Linked DNA regions of Homo sapiens: region 1 is linked to region 2. The links are contacts of gene promoters, found by promoter capture Hi-C in human tissues and cell types (Jung and others, 2019). All regions are on one chromosome and are shown on one strand. The core of a region is centred on a gene start or on the middle of the fragment in contact, and the rest is flanking DNA. Distances in the headings are between cores, read along the strand shown. Region 1 overlaps KIAA0586. Region 2 holds the start of GPR135 (G protein-coupled receptor 135).

Region 1 (2,700 bases), core at 156-2,655, 1.0 Mb before region 2:
TCTAGAGATCATCTAGTCCAAAAACTAGATTCTCTAGTTTATGGTACTCAAAATTTTCATTTGCGTGTGTGTATATAGTTTATTTTTCAGTTTAACAAATGCATGTTTAGTGCCTAGTATATGCAAGGCGTGGTACTAGATGGTATGGAGGAAATTTTTTTGACTGCTGTAACTAGGCTATAAGTTTCTAAGTGCCAAACATGGATTGTTGAGCAGATCAGTAAAGCATCTAATTCAATGCTTATACTTAGTAGATTCTCAGTAAATGCTCCCTTTCTGTGACATTTAGATTATGGTTGAAGGTGGGTTCAGAAATATATAAAATTATTTAAAGGTTAAGGTTGTTGTATTTTTATTGTACTGGAGTATAATAAATATGTAAAATGTGTTTAAATGTTTCTTGTTGGTGCTGAAAATATACTTAGTAATGTAAAAATTTTCATGTTTCTTAGGTGGATGATTTTTATATTTAAAGCTTTTCAAACTAATGCTTGAAACCTGTTATCTAGAATTTAAGGGCTGTTGAAAACAGAGGTTATTTTTTACTTAATCATTCTTGTTATAATACTTAAGCTAGCAAAAGGAGGCTTTAGAAAAATGAGATAAGTGTTTGATGACTGTTTTCATGGTGAGTTGAATAACTTTGTACACACAGGGGCTTTTGAAAGCAACCACAGTAATACAAGATGAAGATTATATGTTACAAGTCTATGGAAAGCCAGTTTATCAGGGCCATCGAAGCACTCTTAAAAAAGGACCATATCTCAGATTTAATTCTCCATCTCCTAAGTCCAGACCACAGAGACCAAAAGTAATAGAACGAGTTAAAGGTAAGGAATCTCATTTTTAATGTTTAATCTCATTTCTTAATAGTATCAGTTTAATATGTAAAGTTTCTTTTTGCTTTTTATTTATTGCTTATACGTGCCATTCAAGTTATATGATGCTTGGGGATGGAAAAATAATTCCTCTTAGGAGAGGTAGGAAGAAATAGACCAACATTTTAAAAAAGACACAAGATAGGAATAATTGGGAAGAAATGTAGGATTAAATGGCATCTTCAGATAAAGCATCATAAAATTTTTATTTAGGAGAAAATGATTTTTTTTTTAATTTTTTTTTTAGACAAGGTCTCACCCTATCCCCCAGGCTGGAATGCAGTGGCACAATCATGGTTCACTGCAGCCTCGACCTACTGGGCTCAAGTGATCCTCCCCTCTCAGCCTCCCAAGTAGCTGGGATGACAGGTGCACACTACCACGCCTGGCTAATTTTTTTGTATGTTTTATAGAGACAGGGTTTCACCACATTGCCCACAGTGGGTGATGATGAATCTTGAGCATCTAAATTATAATCTAGGAAAGTAGACATTTTCCTGAAGACCTAGGTGCATTATGAACAGAAAGATCAGCCATTTGCTGTTTATTATAAAAGTGTTGATGAGCACTTTTGCAGTTTGGTTTTCAAAGAGACTTAGGTAGAAAGGTGAAAACTTTTTTGTTGCTTTTGTGCACAACTGAAAACATCTTCATGTATCACTGTGTATTTTGAGTCACATCTACTGTTTCACTGGTACTGTGTATTTAAATACAACTTTTGGTTATATACTGAGTCTGTTGACTTTGGTTATGTATTATAGTTTCTCAGCTTCTGCTTAGCAATCAGTAAGCTACAGCTGACAATATGTGATAACTAGTAGATACAAACCCATTTTCCTCTCTTATCCTTTCTAGAAGTTGGAGCTATGGTGGTTACTTTGGTTCCCTTTGCTTTCTAAAGGTTATGCAATCATATACAGTGTCAGGTTATATAGAAATTTTACTAATTTAAAATAGAAAGCATATAGCTTATGGGTGATATTTATCCTAATGGATGGTATTTACCCTGAAGTTTTCTCTTATTTAGTGTAGTTTTGCTTTTTTTTTTTTTTTTTTTGAGACGGAGTCTTGCTCTGTCATCCAGGCTGGAGTGCAGTGGCACAGTCTTGGCTCACTGCAACCTCCACCTCCCGGGTTCAAACGATTCTCCTGCCTCAGCCTCCCGAGTAGCTGGGATTACAGGCATGCGCCACAATGCCCAGCTAATTTTTTTTTTGTATTTTTAGTAGAGACAGGGTTTTGCCACATTGGCCAGGCTCGTCTTGAACTCCTGACCTCAGGTGATCCACCCGCCTCAGCCTCCCAGAGAGCTGGGATTACAGGCGTGAGCCACTGTGCCCGGCCTAGTGTAGCTTTGCTATTAATTTATATGGGGGGTTTTGAAAGTCTTTGCAAAAAATAATTTGAGGCTTTAAAATGCTTTCAAATCCAAAAATAACTTTATTCAATAACGCTTTTAATGATCAGAAGTGATTAAGAGCCTGTATTAGTTCATTTTCACACTGCTATAAAAAACTACCTGAGACTGAGTAATCTATAAAGACAAGAAGGTGTAATTGACTCACAGCTCCACATCTCTGGGGAGGCCTCAGAAAACTTAGAGTCATGGCGAAGGGAAGCAAGGCATGTCTTATATGGCAGCAGGAGAGAGGGAGCAAAGAAAGCCATGCCCTTTTAAAGCATCAGATCTCATGAGAACTCATTCACTATCACAAGAACAAATTAGGGGAAACTGCCCCCATGATCCAGTCATCTCCCACCAGGTCTCTCCCGTGACGCATGGGGATCAATTTGAGATGAGATTTGGGTAGGGACACAGAGC
Region 2 (2,700 bases), core at 30-2,529:
TCAGCCAGACGGCCACCACGCTGAGGAGCGAGGGGGCCTGCATGGTCTGGGCCTGCCGGGCGGCGGCCAGCAGCACCAGGAAGCAGTAGGGCCCCCAGCAGCAGATGACGAAGACGATCATGATGAGGACGGTGGTGGCCGTGCGCACCTCGCTGAAGAAGCGCAGCACGCGCGCGTAGGTGTTCACCGGCCGCACGCGCACGTCCGACAGGCGCACCGTCTTGCAGATGTGGTAGTGGCAGAAGCACATGAGCAGGAAGGGCAGCAGGTAGCAGGCCACCACCAGCCCCACGCTGAAGGCCGCGCCCAGCTGCGCGGGGTCCGGGGAGGTCCGGTAGAGGCAGCCGTGGAAGCTCTGCGCCGCCGCGAGTTCCCGGGGCGCCCCGAGCAGCTCCCAGGGCAAGGAGAAGCCCAGGGCCGTCAGCCAGGCGCCCGCCAGCAGCTGCAGCGCGCGGCGGCGGCCGATCTTCTCCCGCGGCGGCCGCACGATAGCGCAGTAACGGTCCAACGAGATGAGCGCCACGCTGAGCGTGGACACGATGCCGAAGCACGAGCTGAAGAAGCGGCTGGCGGCGCAGAAGCCGCGCCAGGGCCCCGCGGCGGCGGCAGGCGCCGAACCCCCGGGCGGAGTGAAGAGGTCCAGGAAGGCGGCGGGCAGGCAGAGCAGCGCCGTGAGCAGATCCGATAGGGACAGCGACAGGATGAAGGCGTTGGTGACGGTGCGGAGCTGCCGGTGCTTCACAATCACCCCCATCACCGCGCAGTTGCCAAGGCTAGACAGCAGGAAGATGAGCAGGAGGACGAGCGCCTGGGCCGCCACTGCAGCTCCGTGCGACAGCAGCGGCGCCGCCTCCGGGCCTAGCGGCCGCCTCACCGCCGCCCCCGCCTCCCGCGCTGCCCCGGACCCGCCAAGGCCGCCGCCACCGGGAGCGGCAGCTGTGCCGCCTCCGCTTGCGTCGCTCAGGTTCCCCAGCGCCGCGGTCGCCACGGTGCTGAAGGAGAGCACGGCCGCCGTGGCCGCGGAGGAAGTCCCGCCAGGTGGGCCGGCCGCGGAGGGGGCGCCGGAGTGCTGGCTGCCCAGTAAGGCCATGCTCGCTGGTGGGCGGGGCGGCTGCGGCTCCTCCATGGGGCCCAGTGGCGGCCGCGGATCTCCTCATCCCGCACCGGGGGCGGCGGCCGCTAGGTCGGAGTGGTGGCTCGGGGCCGGGGGCTAGCGGCCGCCGCGGGGAGCTGGGCTCGGCCGGAGGGGTGGCGGTCGCTGGGGACCTGGCGGAGCCTTTGACGTGGGTTCCAGCGTTGCCGAGGGAACCGCGTGTTTACGCAGGAGCGCGGGGCGGGACGGCAGCCCAGTACCCGCTGCAAAGCCGACCCGCGACACCGCCACTCCGGAGGTTACCGGCCCGGGTGTTCGGGTTTCCGAGAGTGCCAGGTCGACCTCCTGAGGGACCAATGTCCGGCCAGATAAAGTGCCGACTGGCATGCAAACAAATGACCAGATTCAACGAAAGTTCACTCTTGCTCTCTTTTGTAGGGTACAAATGTTCTACAGGCAGGCCTTTTGGGGAGTGGTGGGGGGGGCACTCTGCTTCCTGTGGGTGCTTTTGGTATATACAGGTAGGAAAGGAATCTAGAAAGTGAAGTGAAAGAAAAATCCAGAAGTCTACATCCAGACATCTTAAACTTGAGAAGCAGACTAATTTAAACCAGTAATTCTCAAACTTGAGCTAACAGAATTCACATAGAGGGCGTGTTAAAATACAAGTGACGAGGTCTGAACCCCAGCGTTTCGAATATGTCTGGGGAAGTACCCAAGAATTTGTATCTCTAACGGGTTCGCGGGTGGTGATGATGATGCTGGTCCCAGGACCACACTTACAGAAGCACTGATGTCAAGAGTTTCATAAAATGCAGATTCCCAGGCTGACAGAATTACTAAGGATGGGCCCATGACTCTAAACCCCGTAGGTGATTCTGATACAGGTGCTCTGAGGAGCTAGGATAGTTCCTTTAGATGTTACTTCATTTCCAAGGGCCTGGACCTCAGGCCCCTACTGGCTGATAAATGGGGGGAGAGGGATTGGTGCCTTGCCCTGCTAGCAGCCTTCATCTGTTCTCAGGAATGGGGTATGTTTTGAGTCTAAGGTGCTGCCAGCCTGGCAATCACCACAGATGCAGCTCCAGGTACCTGGCTGGGAGATACGGGGAAAAGAAAGGCAGGGCTACCCAGGGAAGTTGCATCTCAAGTTTCTGGGCATGGCCTCTAATGGGGAAAAGTGTGATAAACCCTCAGGTTAACTAACCCTGGGCTCTTCGCTAAAGCAGTGGTTCACAGAGTATGGACATTGGACCAGCAGCATCAACATCCCCTGGAAACCTTGAGAAATACAAATTATCAGGCCTACAGTGCATAGGATACCCCTGATCTACTGAAACTCCTGTGGTGGGGCCCAGGCACCTATGTTTTAACAAGCCCTCCCAGTGATTCTGATGCACAAATTTGAGAAACACTGCTCTAAAGAATGACTAGTATATTTGTAGATCTTAGAATCAATGGTATTAGTATTGGAGTGCTTATTTCATTCAGAAAAAATATCCTACAGGAAATTTACAGTATAAATAGAAGAACGTTTAAGGTGGCAAACCAAAACTGGGTTTGTCAGCCTAAGCGTCATGGACTTTTGGGCCAGATAATTCTTTATT

The links. Contacts are between HindIII fragments. The study calls those that stand out against the background at their distance.
Region 1: a contact is called between a fragment that was not itself captured here and the fragment with the promoter of GPR135 in region 2, in 2 of the 25 tissues and cell types used here (mesenchymal stem cells and mesendoderm cells).

The regions. Positions count from the first base shown.
Region 1 is chr14:58,460,331-58,463,030 of GRCh38, forward strand. It overlaps KIAA0586, which reads left to right. Exons shown (of 31, transcript NM_001329943.3): 14 at 656-830. Among named protein-coding and RNA genes, the nearest start is that of KIAA0586, 34 kb to the left of the region's middle. The HindIII fragment of the contact is 9,444 bases long and covers 1-2,700 here.
Region 2 is chr14:59,464,101-59,466,800 of GRCh38, forward strand. GPR135 (G protein-coupled receptor 135) reads right to left here and starts at 1,280. Exons shown (of 1, transcript NM_022571.6): 1 at 1-1,280. The coding sequence starts at 1,126. It also overlaps a transcript of L3HYPDH not described here. RefSeq lists a silencer at 811-1,350. The HindIII fragment of the contact is 12,129 bases long and covers 1-2,700 here.